Linked DNA regions of Homo sapiens: regions 1, 3 and 4 are each linked to region 2. Evidence: promoter capture Hi-C in 16 types of primary human blood cells and fetal thymus (Javierre and others, 2016). All regions are on one chromosome and are shown on one strand. The core of a region is centred on a gene start or on the middle of the fragment in contact, and the rest is flanking DNA. Distances in the headings are between cores, read along the strand shown.

Region 1 (4,123 bases), core at 728-3,227, 320 kb after region 2:
AGGAATATATATTTGGTATGTCTCTAACTCTCACAACTGTGACATTTTCTCCTAAAGCTTTTATAAGTCTAGGCAGAGTAGCAAGAGACTGAATTGTTAGACTGAACCAGGACTGAGTTTCTGCAGAGTGGATGTCACAGAGACTTGGTCAGGAAATGATAGGATATTGAGAAGAGAGCACTGAAGTGATGGGCTATAGGATACAGATTGGACAGAGGGCACAAAATTGAAATTCATCTGCTAGATCAGGAGTAAATACAAGAGTCCAAGACTCCTGAAGTCTTAGTGGGTAGATGTTTGGAGGAAAAAAGAGAATGATGAGCTGAAAAGAACCTGTTGACAAAGAGCAGACTGTGAAAGTTTCAGATAATAGAGGCTGACTTGTTCTAGAGGCTGTGAAATCAGTCATCTGAAGTTAATCTTACCTCTTCGTTGAGGCCTTCTCTACTTTCCCTACCCCAAAACTTTTCTCTCCAGCCTCTGAAAGCCTCTGTCTTTTGTTTGCAGGCAGACAGTGAAAGAAACATTAACGGCAGACTCTCAATATACAAGTCAGGAGACCTGGGTTTTGGTCTTATTTCTAGCACCCATAAGTTCTGTGGCCTTGGCCACAGTATGAGCCACAAAGCAACAGCTATCTTGACCAGGAAAACCTGCTTAGGGACAGATTATTCTATCTATACACATCATGTGTGTGGCAAATAGTTGCCCAGACATCCCTGTATTTCTGTAATTCCTTTGTTTCTTCCACCTTTCTATGGGAGTAGGGAATGGGAGGAGCAAAAACTATATTCCTTGAACGTGGCTTTATTTTACTATAGTTTATATAATACCCAACATCAAAAGAATCCTGGAAGAGACTCTGTTGGAGAAGGAAAACTATATTTTGCTTCATCAAATTTCCTAAGACTGCTTTTATTTTAACAGTCTCACACCAGAGTTTGAGAGTAGCAAGTCCAAGAAGCTTATAACGCCATAAAGGCAAATATTCTGGGAGGAAAAAAGTAGACCCTTTAAAATCCAAGCTTTGTTATCTGAGTAAGGTCAACAGAGACCGACCAAATCAACAAGCATGACATGAAGGGCAAATCTGCAATTAAAAGAAGAATAGGGAATTATAAAGATGGATGGGCCCCATGACATGCACGCCCAAGCCTGCATGGCCTTGGCCTCGGATGCCAGAAATTAATGCTTTACTCTTTAGCATTCGTCACCTTTGGCTCTGAACAGAAAGGCAAATGCATTAAAATAACAACAGTTTAGAACACTTACTTAGCTTGGAAGGCATTGTTGGTTCCCCTGTGGTCGAGGTCATGACACAGGCATCCCACAATCACCGCTAAAATTTCCACCTCGGTCAGAATGTCTTGAAACCCAGCAGTCTGGGAAGAAGGGGAAAATGGCAACAGTCACTACTGGGGTACGGAGGATGGATAAGGTTAGGTGCTGAGCAACAGTCAACTCTGTTTTCATACCCACATCATTTAAGGAGATGATTAACTGCCACTCCCTCAGACAACAGTAAGTTGGGTGGTCAGTTGCACAGCCTAAGGTCCCCACAGTGATGAATTAGCTTGCTGTCACAGCAGCCCACGCTGCCACACTGGGACATAGTTCAGACTATTTTGTTCCCTTTTTAGAGAGAAGGTTGGACTATCCAGAGACAGTGACAGTTTAGCAAAGGCCCAGGGCAAAATGTGTTTTGTTATTATACATTTTAATGATGAGCATAGGGTTTGGAGGTTGGAGGTTGGGGAATAGGAAGGGGCAGTGAATTGCAAAGTGAACACTACACCTGCCAGATCCCACCCAAATGAGAGCAGGCAGAAGGAGAACACAACCCTTCTTTTTTTTTTTTTTTTTAACATTAAAAGGAGACACTTTAACATACTCAAATTGTTATACAATGACATCCTAGAGGTTATCTTGTAAATACCCTAATTCATATTAGGTTGGTAGACAGATGAAATTCATACAGATAATAAGGCAGTGCATGTCATGGACACCAGAATTTGTCAGAGGATTGTCAACCCAGACTGAGGATTGAGTGGGGTATCCATTACTGGGAATTCTTTTTTCTTATCTTGTGGTAGCTTGCTGGTGAAATGCACAGCTGTGATGTGATTTCTTTTAGAAGCAGGTTGACATAATTATGTAATCAACAGCAGCAATGCTTCTTGGGTTGCTGCTGGCCCTTTCATTAGTTTAGAAGAGGAAGTGGACCTCTGGGAATGCAGGTCTATGCATTTTCTTGATCGAAGGCCTTTATATCTCCCCCTCTTTTACTTTGTAAGTCTCCCATTTCATTACTTATTAAAATCTTTATCAGAGAGTGGGAGGAGGGGGAGGATTAGGGTACAAATTGCTTCACTTTTCATGTGTTTTTTTCCACCAAATCTAGGATCACTGGCCCACACCTGTAAGACACTTCTCTTAGTAAAATGAAAATTTTGTTTTTAAATTGGTTATGTTTGTGTTGCAGAAATAACTGAATAACAGGTTTCTGTGTTGACAATTTTATTTTTTTTTTAGGAGACAGTCTTGTTCTATCACCCAGGCTGGAGTGCAATGGCACCATCTCGGCTTACTGCAACCTCTGCCTCCTGGGTTCAAGTGATTCTCCTGCCTCAGCTTCCCCAGTAGCTGGGATTACAGGCACCCACCACCACGCCCAGCTAATTTTTGCATTTTTAGTAGAGATGGGGTTTCACCATATTAGTGAGGCTGGGCTCGAACTCCTGACATCAGGTGATCCACCCATCTCGGCCTCTCAAAATGCTGGGATTATAGGTGTGAGCCTCCACGCCTGGCTGACAATTTTATTTTAATAAATAGACTTGGGTCCACTGCTACATTTAGAAATACATATAACTTCATTTGTATAGCAAATGGGAATGTTAATAAATTGGGAGTATGAAATAGTCCATGTCAAAGCTTGCATATGCCGGCCAGGCACGGTGGCTCAAAATTGTAATCCCAGCACTTTGGGAGGCCGAGGTGGGTAGATCAACTGAGGTCAGGAATTCGAGACCAGCCTGATGAACATGGCAAAACCCCATCTTTACTGAAAATACAAAAATTAGCCTCGCTTGGTGGCACGCGCCTGTAATCCCAGCTATTCGTGAGGCTGAGGCAGGAGAATCGCTTGAACCGGGAGACAGAGGTTGCAGTGAGCCTGTATGGCACCACTGCACTCCAGTCTGAGCGACAGAGCAAGACTCCATCTCAAACAAACAAACAAACAAACAAAAAAGCTTGTATATGCCCTTCATTTTAAAATCTGCAGTTGGCTGTTAGTTTTTCTAAGTTAATTTTATTTTACTTAAATTATTACCTGCAGTAACTAAAAAAATTCAAATTATACTGAGACTTAGAACTAAAAATCAGTAGTCCCTCATTATTCTCCTTTCTTGATTCCTGAAGGCAACTACTTTCTATTTTCTTTTTCACCTAAATTCGTAGTTTTCCCACCATATTTCTTTTCTTTTTTCTTTTTTTTTTTTTTTTTTTTTTTTGAGACGGAGTCTCTCTCTGTCGCCCAGGCTGGAGTGCAGTGGCGCGATCTTGGCTAACTGCAAGCTCCGCTTCCCAGGTTCATGCCATTCTCCTGCCTCAGCCTCCTGAGTAGCTGGGACTACAGGTGCCCGCCACCACGCCCAGCTAATTTTTTGTATTTTTAGTAGAGATGGGGTTTCACTGTGTTAGCCAGGATGGTCTCGATCTACTGACCTTGTGATCCACCTGCCTCAGCCTCCCAAAGTGCTGGGATTACAGGCGTGAGCCACTACGCCCAGCCCCCCACTATATTTCTATATAGCATGCACATATTATTAGCACTTGGTTATTCACCAAGTACTCATATTGTCCTTTCTATGTACCATACATTGTTCTAAGAGCTTTACAGCCATTTAACTTATGGAGTTCTCATAACAGTCCTGTTAGGTAGAAACTATTACTGTCCCCAGTTATAGATGAGAAAACTGAGTCACAGAGAGGCTAAGTCATATGCCCAGGGTCTCCCAGCTAGTGCATAGCAGAAGGGAGCAAGCTCCTAGCATCCTTTCACCAGAATCTGCCCTTGAACACTGGCGACGTCTAGCAGCGGGTGAGTTTATGGTCACCC
Region 2 (3,821 bases), core at 981-3,480:
TATTGGATTGAGCCACCTCCATCTATCTGTTTTGGAGACTGCTTTATCAGGTCAGAGGAGATGAGTGTGACTTTCTTCAGATTGTGCAAGACAAAAAGAACACCATTAGAATTATGTACATGACACTGGAAGGCAAAGTGGGTTTTAAAATTTTAAAATAAGAGACAATTCCTCTAATTGACAACAAAATCAAGTAAAGGAAAGGAAGCTAGGATTTTTCTTCTGTTATCAAACATGTAGGAGCATATAGCCACTTTTCTGGTCATCAGTTGAATACTGAAAATGTCAATCAGGTGCAACTTCTTTGTTGTGAGGGTAGGCAACAAAGTATGCAAAAGCCAGAAACTAGTGGCTTGCAGGCTTTGATATTTAATTTTACAAGATCAACTAAAGATTCTCTTTTTTCAGTCATAAATACCTAGGAAAGTGCTATATGTGTTTCATGTTCTTGCACCTCATGAATGAGGTCGTGATAGCTGTGGTGGCAATCTCTGAAATTCTTCCCAGAACTCAATCCTTAAGAACCAGGAGTATAGTTTATAATTAAAGTGAAAATTTATTTTAGAAAGTTCAATTTTAGAATCTATAAAATAAAAAACAAAAACCCCAAGCCTACGTAAGTAATTTTAACGTAAAATGTTAATGGCCCCAAACTCTAATGGTGGAATAAGGACAATAACATGAAGTATATGATATTTGAGATAAAATATAGCTATTTAAGAAAAGCTTCTTACTCTCCTTGAGCCTTCATCTATAAAATAAGGATAATAAAACTGTGTCATTGTGTTACTGCAAAGATTGATTAAATAGATACGTATAAGATGCCTAGGTTATGGCCATTTTTTATATTTAACAAATTCCTAATTCTTTCTTGTTTCTACAACTGTACTAAATTATTTTAATAGCTGCAAAAGTATTTTAACATATTGACTAACCATTTCTCTGTTGCTAGACATTTGGACTGTTTTCAATGGTTTGGTATCTCTTCGTATATAAATTTCAGAAGACATTCGGACCTCCTGTAAAGGCCAGGTAATACATATTTTGGGGCTTCTGGGACCACATAAGGTCTCTGTTGCATATTCTTTTAAAAAATTTCTTGTTTTCTTTTAACAACCCTTCTCAAATACAAAAACCATTAGCATGAGGGCTGTGTAAAAACAGGCCACAGACTAGAGCTGGCCCTCCAACAGCAATTTGCTTAGCCCTTAATTGAGAGTTTTTAACCAGTCTGGGCCTCTTTGGAAGTTCACTCTAAAGGCATAATCTCAATTTTAGAAGCTGGCAACACCCAAGAGAGCAATTGTTAGTCTCTAGTCCCATGGATGTGGTGTTCTTCAGATTCCTCTGCCAATATTTTTCTTGTTAGGAAAGCATGATGTGAAAGTGGTGACAGGATGGAGAATGACAATGGCCAGTGTATGTGAGTTTTTGTCTAAGCTAATTCTTATGCAAGACACCGGCTGAAACAGGTGAGGAGCACTTTTCACGTGCTATCTTCCAGAAATGAATTCAATCTGTAAATAACTGAGATGTCTTCACAGCTCTTGGGTAATTTTTGTCTGTAGCAATAAGAAACTTTATCTCTATTAAAGTTAGGAAGGGGTTAGGATCCAGTAATGAATGAAATGAGAACTTAAGTTGCAACTCAGTTTCTGTACTTACTTGTGATCTAGCATTAAACACAGTGCCAGGCACGAAATAGGTGGTGAGAAATAAGAAAATGATAGAGCTATTTGCTCTAATGGTTAGAGGCAATGATGGTCAGCTTTGAGTTACTTTGGTGACCCCGCAGGGAGGAAGAGCACAGGTGGAACATTAGAATCTCTTTCAGGAAAAGGATGCCGCTGGATCCATCAGGTCCAGTAGCACTGCCCATTTCTCCTGCTCCAAGGCATCTGCCCTCGAAAGCCCCCAGGCCACACCCGAGGACACCACCCAGGGTTCTAGGACACCTCGAGGGCGGACGTGGTTTGGCTCTCGGTCCAGCTGGACCGGGCTGGGCCAACCGGGAGTCAGCTCGAACTCACCTGCTTGGCAGGTGCGCGCTTCCCGAGGCGTGACAAGGGAGCGCCGGCGCGGTGGGTGGGGGGCAGAGAATGTGAAGCTCCAGACGCATGGCACCCGCCGCCAAGTCGCCGCGGTGGCTGCCGGGATGCGCCGCAGCGAATGGTCGCGCCGGGCGCCGCTCTGAGTGACCTTTCACCCGCGCCCAGCGGTTCCGGGCGGCAGCACAAGGCGGTAGCCATGGCGGAGGCGGCGGCTGCAGCGGGTGGGACTGGCTTGGGCGCGGGCGCGAGCTACGGGTCTGCAGCGGACCGGGACCGGGACCCGGACCCGGACCGCGCCGGGCGGAGGCTGCGGGTTCTCTCTGGCCATCTGCTGGGCCGGCCCCGGGAGGCTCTGAGTACCAATGAGTGCAAAGCGCGGAGAGCCGCGTCGGCGGCCACGGCAGCGCCCACGGCCACTCCCGCCGCGCAGGAGTCGGGCACCATCCCAAAGAAGCGGTGAGTAGCGGTATGTGGAAGGAGTTAGCGTCGAGGGACCAGGCCGGGCCTGTGCTGCAGGAGGGCACAGGCGAGGTGGGAAGGGAAGTGACACGGGTGGGCGGAAGGCATCCCGGTCCCTGAAAGTAGGGACCCACCTCTCTTTCGAGAGAGTGGACTAGACCCTGGATTCTGTCAGGAAGGGGGCGGGATGGGATGGTGGATTTTGGTCACTATGTGAGGGTAACAGGCTTGAAGAACTCTCGTTGGAGAAGGGTTTAAAGGATTCCTTTTTCCTGAGCTTTTAGTGCCAGGAATTCATTTTTTATCTTGAATTAATACTTTTGGTGCTGAGGTCTTGGAATGGGTAGCAGAGGTTCTATTTTTCTCCGAGGAGATATAAATTTGTACTAGATGATAGATCATAGGAATCTCTCTCATTCGCGAAAGCCTGCTGTGGGGGAAACTGGTGGTGCCCTGGAAAAAGGTGCTGACTGGTTTCTGTGGGGTAAGTTCCACTTGCTTAGGATCAAGATGTATTGACTTTGAGGGAGGAAACCGATGAATGGTAAGAAGCCATAAACTGCAAACACTAGCTAGTGGTTTAAGGTGTGGTGGTATAGCTACTGAGCTCTGTGTAACCAGAAGCTAAAAGACAAGAGTCTAACCGATGAGGGATGTTTGTAAGAGATCTTGACTTTCGATGTTTTTGGAGAAATCTTTTTTTTTTTTTTTGTATTTTTAGTAGAGACAGGGTTTCACCGTGTTAGCCAGGATGGTCTCGATCTCCTCAATCTCTGATGAAGGCTATTAGGAGAAGCTACTTTCTGACGTGTGGCTTTGTCACCGTGGATAAATGGATAAACCGAGAGTGAAAAAAATAAGTAGCTAATGTTTAAAGTGTACTTTTAAGTGTGCCAAAGTGTGCTAAATCCTTTGTTTCTTCCCAAGCTATGAGGTATGTGCGGTTTTCTCCCATTTTACAGATGAATAAATTAAGTCTGCTGGAGTCTTAGCAGATATGCTGTGTGACAGGTTAGAATTTGAAAGCACATCAAATTGACTTCATGGCCAAGTTCCTAAGCTATACTTGCTTCTGATGAATTAATTCAACATACATGAGTCTTTACAAAATACACACTGTACCAGCAATACAGAAATTTAAAAATACGGTATTTACTCTTAAGGAAGGAATAGCTTAGTAGGTAAAATTATAATACAGCGTTATAAGAAACTTAACTGGGAACTATACCACCTGGTCATTTAACCCAGTTTTGGGTTTGTGTTTGTTAGTGCAAAGATGTTCCAAAGTAAAGATTGTCTGAGTAAATTTTG
Region 3 (4,223 bases), core at 744-3,243, 360 kb after region 2:
CATCAATATTAATTTTCTGTGTTATAGTAACAACAAAAGAGTAAAACCAGAAAGAGGAAAACCTTATTTTTCCCTATGAATAGCCCAGGTCCACATGAAGGAGAAATTAGAGTAGACAGGTGGCACTGCAGCCTGTTATTCAAGGCCCAGGCAACCCTGACTAGTTCCTTCGTTCTCTCCTTTGCTTTTTTCTGAGGAAGAAAAATCAGCCTGAAGAGTCAAGCAGAATGACGAACTTTTTAAGGGCAAGATAATTCACAGGATCAGTTAGTGATAGAGTAACTTTGGGGACTTGCTTTGCATTTAGAATACCCACCCTATATGGCATGTTAGTCCTAGCAGAGAGAGGCTTGCTTCCACACCAAAAGCCCTAATTCACTTTCCACGGAGGCCCTCCCCATCCCTCAGCAGCACTTCCCTTTATCAGGCAGATAAGATTGGGGGGGCCAACATCTATCTTGTATGCATCCTATGACACTGCAGATGAAAACTACCTGCCCTGGTGTGGTGTCACATTTTTTACATTTGATTTTTATGGATGAAAGCATTGCTTCATCTGATACTTATAAAATACCACATTTGCCACTGAGAGGCTTCTGTGTCCAAATATCTGCCCCGCCCCCCATGTCTAATCTTGATCTTCACAGCTGAGGCCCATCTGGATCATCCTCCTTTCCAGCTGACAGTGAGAGAGCCAATGAAATGCCTTTTCCTGTTGCTGGGTGACTGCGAATATTTTGAAAACAAGTTCCTTAAAGGCAGCAGCTTCAAAGCCTGCCATTGGCTGGCTAGGCATACTGTGCAATGCTGACGCATGAAGGCTGGCAGAGGAGTGACAGTTGGGAAGAGCTACGCAAATATATTACTGGCCTGATGGTCCACTGGAGGGAAAGACTATTTCAAGGCTGAGTGACAACTATAACATACCCTGTCAGAAGAAAAATAAATCTCCCTGAGTCTACATTCAGGCATCTGAAGAACATTGCAGAAAATACTGCAGACAAAAAAAATGCAAAAACAAAAAACAAAAAACAAAAAAACTCAAGGTTGTCCTACCCTCAGATCTCCTGCTTTTTATGGTCTGATGAGCAGTTCTTCCTGTTCAAGAAATATATGGGTATTTCCACATACTTTGGTAGAATTTGTGTTCATACATTTTAAAGCCCAAGCTTGTTTATTTGGAAAATAATTTTCAACAAAGTCATGGAAGATTTTCTTTGCTTCCTTGTCTCCAGCGTCCCTTCCTTCACCTTCCTCCCCTGACCTTCAAGTCCAAAAATCCAGCAGGCACAGTATGCGGTCAGTGTCAGGGGCAGCATTGGCTGCATTTTATCTCACTCTGTCCACTTAAAATATTTGCATCCTGGTGGGAGGATAAGCACAGTCCTGTCTAAACAGCCTTGGGGTTCAGCTTTGCAGCTGGAGAGAGCTGTTTGGATACAAGTAACTGCTTTTGCTAACACCGGGTTAACTGTTCACACACAAATCTGCCAACGAGCCTCTAGGAAGGAATGTCCTTCTACTAATTGAATTCTAATGAGGCCAGGAAGTAGATTAGGAATTGAGCTATTTTACTATGAGTTTCAAATATCAGATCTAGGGATGTTTGGCCTGTCTGATCTCCTTAATTCTCCAGCAGGTCCCAATAAATTCATGAAGAAATGACTAGAAGAAATCTGTGGGTTATTGGTTGATCCAGTTGCAGGGGGCTTTTCTATATATCAGAGACTACAGTGTTCAAACACAAGAGAAAGAGGCTGATCTGAGATGACCTGATGGGCTAGTCATTAGTGAGGAGTTCCTGGACCAATTTAATTGGCATGTCCCTGGAAGTTATATTTATTTGCCTTATAATATTTGGGTAAGTTTGAGAGCCAAATCAGGGTGAGCATCAGTGGGGTCACCCCTGATTCTACTTAGTTGTGGAAATAGAAATGCTTTAAGGACATAGTAGAACATTCTTTTCAATAATGCTATATAGCCAACATCACTTGTGGAACCACTTCAGCAGACAGAGCGATCACTTGTGGGTGTCACCCAGTTTCTAGACATTACGAAGAGGCTCTTGTGAGCATCTTGCCTGTATCCCAGGAAATGCCTGCCTGCCATAAAAGAGGGCATGGGGTCATGCAAAAGTTACCTGCATGTACTGTGAAGGACAGCTATGATACCATCCACCAGGTACCTCTTTCCTTTCTAGAACTGGCCCTCCTTCTGCTGCGACCCCATGTTTCCACCTGGATTTGATTTTTCCAACTGACACACTTTCCTAAGCACACACTCCTCATCACAGTTGACTGGTCCAGGGATGGACAGGGGAACCAAGTGGGCCAAGCGGACCAATCAGAAAATGTCCCTGATATTTTCCAAACTGGAACTTGGGACTCCATAGTTCCCTTCTAGAAGGGGTTGCTGAAAGATGAGAAACCCAGGCTCTGCCAGAGGCCACTTTTACCCCTTTGTAGAGCAAGCCAGTCTGCAGTGAGTACCCAAGGGCTCCATGTGCAATGTGAGGCTTTTCATATTTGGCCCAAGGGGCCACCTGGGTGCTTAGTGGAGAGTCACAGCAGCCAGCCCCAGGAATCACCAAGTGGCTCTGAGGGTAGCAGATGGTTTTGCAGGAGCCCATTCTGTGGGGCAGGGTTTCCTTTTGGTGTGCACTACGCTCTCATTTGTAACACTTCCTGGGAAGACTTTGGGCTTTTACATACTATATAGAGGAAGGAGATTTTACATCTGGGACCTTGGGGCCATTTCAACCCTGCCTTCCCACTAATGAATTTACCACACAATAAGAGAAAGAGTTCCTGTTGGGAGAGAAGCTTGTTTGCACCCCAGGTCAGACAGGGCCACTGCTAACACTAGAATAGTGGGCCCCTGGTCTTTCAGGGGTTATCAAAATAACCAGCTTTTGCCCTCACACACAACTCCTCAGAGAACCGGAGTAAAGCTGTTTTCAAGAAGACCACTGATGGTTTAAAAGATATTTCAGGCAGAAGCATAAATTTCTTCATGGTTTTAAAGGGAAAGAAATTCCCTTTAAATTCATATTGGAGAAATGTCATCACAGAAAGCCTCTCACTCTCTTCTCGTTCATTTCTGAATTCTAAATCTTTTCTGTTGGTGGTGAGGGGAAGAGTAAAAAGTGGTTTTCCTCAAAAGCCAGCTTCAGTGGTTTACGGAGTTGTTTGACAAACTTAAGCCCAAGTGTTGAGGACGGCCACCTGTTCCCACAGAAATCACAAAGCTTGGTTTTCACAGAACTCGTCTCCATCTCCAGGAAGGCCAGAGGTGAATTATAGTATGTGTTAGGAAAATGAACCTAGTAGCAAGAGGAATGGGATCACTCAGCACAGGAATTGTTTGAAATTTGCCCTTTGGAGAAAATAAGTGCTGTTAGCGCCCACAAACATGTCCCTTGAAGTTGATATTCTAGAATGTTGAAGGCTAAGGAATCATACCTGCTCAAGCAATGGGGCTGGATTACTTTTCAAACTATGTAACCTTAAAACAAACAAACGAACACATAAACAAACCAAAACATTCTTAGCAAGGTCTGTTGAAACCTGAACCCATCTATCGAGAAAGTAAACCAAGATTATTCAAGGGCTCACAATCAGACGATAAGGAGGGTCAAGCCAAGACGAGAAGAATCTCAAACAAAACGCATTCCATGACATTTCAAAAAGGATCTTACAAATTCAGCATGCCCACCCATATCTCAATTTCTTAATGTGTGCAATGTAGTTACCTGGGCGTTTCTCTTTGTACCTCAGTTTTATCATCTGTAAAATAAGAAAAATAATAGTAGGGTTTTTGTGAAGACTAAATAAATTAATACAGGTAAGGCACCAAAAACTGGCCTGGCAGCTGGTAAAATGTTCAGTAAATGTTTATTTTCCAGATGACTGTCACATGGAGTAGACTGAGCATATACTGGGGCCCAAGAAAAGGGCCTCAGCAGCATGAACCAAGGTCTCCAAACTGGCAGTGTAACATCTCTCTTAGCTGCCTGATCCTTAAATGGGATAGAGCCGCTGATGCCTCCTTCAGAGGCTTGCTGTTAACATTCAATGAAATAAGAGCTATGAAAGCACTTAGAATCAGCAAAAATGCTGTGGTTATCATAGCATTTGTCTTAGTGAACAGCAATATTTGAAAATGTATAATGATTGGTATCATGTTATCCTACAGAAAGCCCAGGAAATGTATTTTAAAGTCCG
Region 4 (4,322 bases), core at 1,654-4,153, 340 kb after region 2:
ACTGAATTAATAGCCAGAAAATAACATTTGGATAAAAGAACCATTTACTTTACTGCAGCAATAAATGAAAACACAGAATTATGAGTCCTGGAGCTAATTTGAATAATGTTCAAGAAGTGAGACTCTAGCTGGCTGGAAGCACCTGATATCCTTTGACCATTCCTCTTCTTTGTTTGGGTCTTAACAGTTAAGTGGTTATCAAAGGGAGTCATAAAACTGCCTCCTCTAAAATTGAAAAGGTAGCTTTACAAAGAGGCCATAAAATGTTAAAATACAATCCTGGATCCCTTGACACATGAATATTACATTTTGTGATGCTCAGAAAATGGGAAGAAACAACAAAGTGGGTGGTAGTCCAGCCTTGGCAATTCAAAGGAAAATTGACTTGTTGCTAATTCCAGCCCACTCACTCTCTTAATCCTCTGGACAAAAAGCAGTAGTCAGGAGCCTTACGATTCTGGGATTAATGGAGACAGGAGGTTGAGCTGTGGTGATGTGGAAGGGACAGCAAAGTTCTTTCTTTTGCCAATATAATTATAGCCCTTATTATGTGCCAGATACTGTTTTAGTGTTATGCTTTGCATATACTCACTCATTTGATGTTCACGAGAACCCTAAAAGCTTGGGAATAGTTTTAATTCCATGTTATGATGAGGCAACTGAAATAAATAATGAATAAGTTGGTCAAATTTGCAGTGTGATTGTCAGAGGCAGATTTGAACCTGGGGAGCTTTGTGCTAGAGACTGGCTCCTAACCATCACACTGCCTCTCAAAATGGGCCTATGCCAAGCGAGGGTCCCCCTTTCTGTATTATGCAAACTAACTTGGGTGCACCATGACTGGAGTTTGGGATTTATATCCAGATGACTAGCTTTTCAATCCGTTTTTTATTATAAGCAACCTGGACCTATGTGAGGGACAATGTTTTTGTCTTTACCTATATAAAACTCCTTGGGAAAGTCTCCAAATTCAGAGCTGACTTTGGAATGAACCCAAATTGTTACTTTGTGTTGATTGTAGCTAACCCAGAATCAACTCGAATACTCCCAAGACCATGCTGAAAAAATAACTTGTCTTCTCGGGGAGCAAACAATGAGGAGGTGACAAACGAGGAGATAAATAGTATTAGCAGAACAGCGATGTTATGAAAAAGTAAGTTTTTGCTTGATCACAGGAGTTTGAGGCTGCAATACACTATGATCGCGCCTGTGAATAGGCACTGCATACACTCCAGCCTGGGTAACACAGCGAAACCCCATCTCTTAAAAAAAAGTAGGATTTAAATTCTCCTGGCAATTGTTTTCTCTTGATGCCATTCATTAAATTTGCCTTGTAGTTGCCTAGAACACTCTTCATGACAGATATGGGCTCTCATCCTACCTTTAACACTTACTTGGCTGAGTGGCAGTGGGCAAGAAACTAAAGTAAGCCTCAGATTGAGCATTCTTTGTATAAACAATCACAAAATTGTGTTGCATGGCTGTTGTGAGGAGTGAATGAAATAATGCACACAAGAGCCTAGCACAGTGCTTGGAAATAGGAAATAGTAAGTAACGGTGCCTGGCATGATGGCGCTTGATGTTGGTGTGTTGTTGTTATGCTCATTATGATTTTTATACTGATAGCAGCCCCATAGAAGGATAGGGTGAGTGGAGAAGATTTTGGTAACTAGACTCTGAAGAGTCAAGCTCTGTCCTCTGCCCCAGGAGACCGCCCAGTTTAATCCATTTTAATTCAGTACATATGTATTGTGCATCTAACTGTACGCCAGGCACTGGCATATGCTGTAGTTATGTTTGTAAAATTAGTGTGGTCCCTGTGCTCGCAGCCTGTCAGAGGATACAGAGAAGCAAACGGGCAATTACAGAACAGTATGGGTTAAGAGCTGCGATGGGGGAAACACGGGGCACCACAGGAACCCCCGGGAGAGTTTAGTGAAATACATTCGGCTTCACGTTCCTGCCTTAATTCCAAACTGTCATTAAACCTCAGCTTTATAAAGTATATTTAGTAATTTAAACAGTTAAAAATAGTTACTATGATAAAAAAATGTTTAAAGGTCATAGAGAATGTATCAAAACCTAAGAAAAGCCGTGGACTCCATTCCTGAGATGCTCATGGCCTACCCAAGAAGAAAGAAAAAACAATGATTCGTGGAAAAAAAAAACCCCAAAAAACCAGAAGCATAAAGTTCAGAGGCAACAACAGGAATGAGCGTATGAGATGCAAAGAAGCACAATGGAGGAGGATCATCTAATGTGGGCATTGGAGGGTGAATACAAGTTCACCAGGAGAATAAGGAAACATGGCGGAGAACAGCACTACAGAGTAGAGTTCCAATCTCCCCTGAAGATGGTGCAATACCAGGAGGCACAGACAGGGCCCCATTGTTAACAAAAAAACAGTGCTTGTTCACAGAGATCCAAGACTTCCTCTAATAGGCTTGGACCCCTTGGCTGCCTAAACAACTGTAAAACTTGAGTTCATCCAAGTAAAGGGCATCCGCTTTGCCAAGCTCCAGTGGCCTTGGACCACAGTGCAGGCGCCTGGTTTGCCTGTGACTCCAGGACTGACTTCTGTTCGCTGTCCATGCCAGGTTGGCTCCCTTGACCCCTGGTAGTGACCAGTCTCCATTCTCTATGGCCAAACCTCCCAGAACTTCCCCTTTGAAGCTCTGGTCCCAATTTTAGTTGTGGCAGGTGGCAAATGTTTGGGCCGTTTTCGTATGGGAAAGCAATTGTCAGTGTTTCCTTTTCCCTTTCTTTGCTGCACTCAACAGCGAACCCTTTCTTTCCTCTCCTGGGAATATTTGAAGACCAAGCAACCCTTTGTGTCCTCCAGGGAAAAGGAATTTGTTTTCGGTTGAGTGGGGTTCTGGGTCTAATGGGTCTATCTATTTTGAAAGAACCAGGGAAAAAGAGAGAGTACTCTAGAACCAGAAGGAAGGAAGGACGTGCTCCCGGGGGAGATAAGTAACAGAGGAAGGGCCAGGCGTAGTGGCTCATGCCTGTAATCCCAGCACTTTGGGAGGCCGAGGCAGGTGGATCAACAGAGGTCAGGAGTTCGAGACCAGCCTGGACAACATGGTGAAACTCCGTCTCTATTAAAAATACAAAAATTAATACAAAAATTAGCTGGGTGTGGTGGTGGGCACCTGTAATCCCAGCTACTTAGGAGGCTGAGGCAGGAGAATTGCTTAAACCCAGGAGGTGGAGGTTGCAGCGAGCACTGCACTCCAGCAGGGGTGACAGAGTGAGACTCCATCTAAAAGAAAAAAAAAAGAAAAAAAAAGAAAGGGAGGAGGAAGAAGAATTTCCCCCTTTCACAGAGATACAGGAATGAGGAAAGAGAGGGAAGGAGACAGCCCCTGGGAGCATGGCTGCTGATCCTTGTGCATTTACCTAGAAAGTGGATGCACCTAGCAAAGGACCCCCATGGAGGCAAAGGACTCCCATGTTGGAGCTCCCATAAGCTAAGTGACAGTTGAATCAGAATCCATGGACTGTCCCATGTTTAAGTTGAAACCTCTCATTATTTGCACTCAAGAGTTCACCAGCTCTTCCTCCCATGGAAGAGCGGTAAGGACTTTAGCTCATTAGCATCCAGCACCTCAACCACTGACCACCCAATGGAAATGACACCTGTTTGGGTAATGCACCCTTGCTTAGTCACCAAACACACAATACCTAAAGACACTAATAAAGCCAAGAAAGAGGCTGGGTGCGGTGGCTCACACCTGTAATCCCAGCACTTTGGGAGGCCGAGGTGGGTGGATCACTTGAGGTCGGGAGTTCGAGACCAGCCTGACAAAATGGAGAAACCCTGTCTCTACTAAAAATACAAAAATTAGCTGGGCATGATGGCACATGCCTGTAATCCCAGGTACTCTGGAGACTGAGGCAGGAGAATCGCTTTAACCCGGAAGGCAGAGGTTGCGGTGAGCCAAGATCACGCCATTGCACTCCAGCCCAGGCAACAAGAGTGAAACTCTGCCTCAAAATAAAATAAAAATAAATAAATAAATAAAATAAAATAAAATAAATCACATTATTGGCTGGGTGCGGTGGCTCACACCTGTAATCTCAGCACTTTGGGAGGCTGAAGTGGACAGATCACGAGGTCAGGAGATCGAGACCATCCTGGCTAACACAGTGAAACCCCGTCTCTACTAAAAATACACACACACATACACACACACACACACAAATTAGCCAGGCGTGGTGGTGGGTGCCTGTAGTCCCAGCTACTTGGGAGGCTCAGGCAGGAGAATGGCATTAGCCTGGGAGGCGGAGCTTGCAGTGAGCTGAGATCACGCCACTGC

The links. Contacts are between HindIII fragments. The CHiCAGO score rates a contact against its expected background, and 5 or more counts as called.
Region 1: a fragment that was not itself captured here is called in contact with the fragment with the promoter of AGPS in region 2 in 1 of 17 cell types (M2 macrophages); the score reaches 8.6 in M2 macrophages.
Region 3: a fragment that was not itself captured here is called in contact with the fragment with the promoter of AGPS in region 2 in 1 of 17 cell types (fetal thymus); the score reaches 7.9 in fetal thymus.
Region 4: a fragment that was not itself captured here is called in contact with the fragment with the promoter of AGPS in region 2 in 1 of 17 cell types (megakaryocytes); the score reaches 5.4 in megakaryocytes.

The regions. Positions count from the first base shown.
Region 1 is chr2:177,710,497-177,714,619 of GRCh38, forward strand. PDE11A (phosphodiesterase 11A) reads right to left here. Exons shown (of 20, transcript NM_016953.4): 13 at 1,273-1,382. The region is part of intron 4 of PDE11A-AS1 (PDE11A antisense RNA 1); the gene reads left to right. Among named protein-coding and RNA genes, the nearest start is that of PDE11A-AS1, 39 kb to the left of the region's middle. The HindIII fragment of the contact is 1,909 bases long and covers 1,024-2,932 here.
Region 2 is chr2:177,390,543-177,394,363 of GRCh38, forward strand. It overlaps AGPS (alkylglycerone phosphate synthase), which reads left to right and starts at 2,231. Exons shown (of 20, transcript NM_003659.4): 1 at 2,231-2,507. The coding sequence starts at 2,248. LOC100130691 (Putative uncharacterized protein FLJ44553) reads right to left here and starts at 2,149. Exons shown (of 9, transcript NR_026966.1): 1 at 2,031-2,149. RefSeq lists silencers at 2,231-2,450, 3,659-3,821. The HindIII fragment of the contact is 4,249 bases long and covers 725-3,821 here.
Region 3 is chr2:177,753,338-177,757,560 of GRCh38, forward strand. The region is part of intron 10 of PDE11A (phosphodiesterase 11A); the gene reads right to left. Among named protein-coding and RNA genes, the nearest start is that of PDE11A-AS1, 82 kb to the left of the region's middle. The HindIII fragment of the contact is 1,653 bases long and covers 1,168-2,820 here.
Region 4 is chr2:177,733,244-177,737,565 of GRCh38, forward strand. All of the region lies in intron 10 of PDE11A (phosphodiesterase 11A), which reads right to left. Among named protein-coding and RNA genes, the nearest start is that of PDE11A-AS1, 62 kb to the left of the region's middle. The HindIII fragment of the contact is 4,569 bases long and covers 620-4,322 here.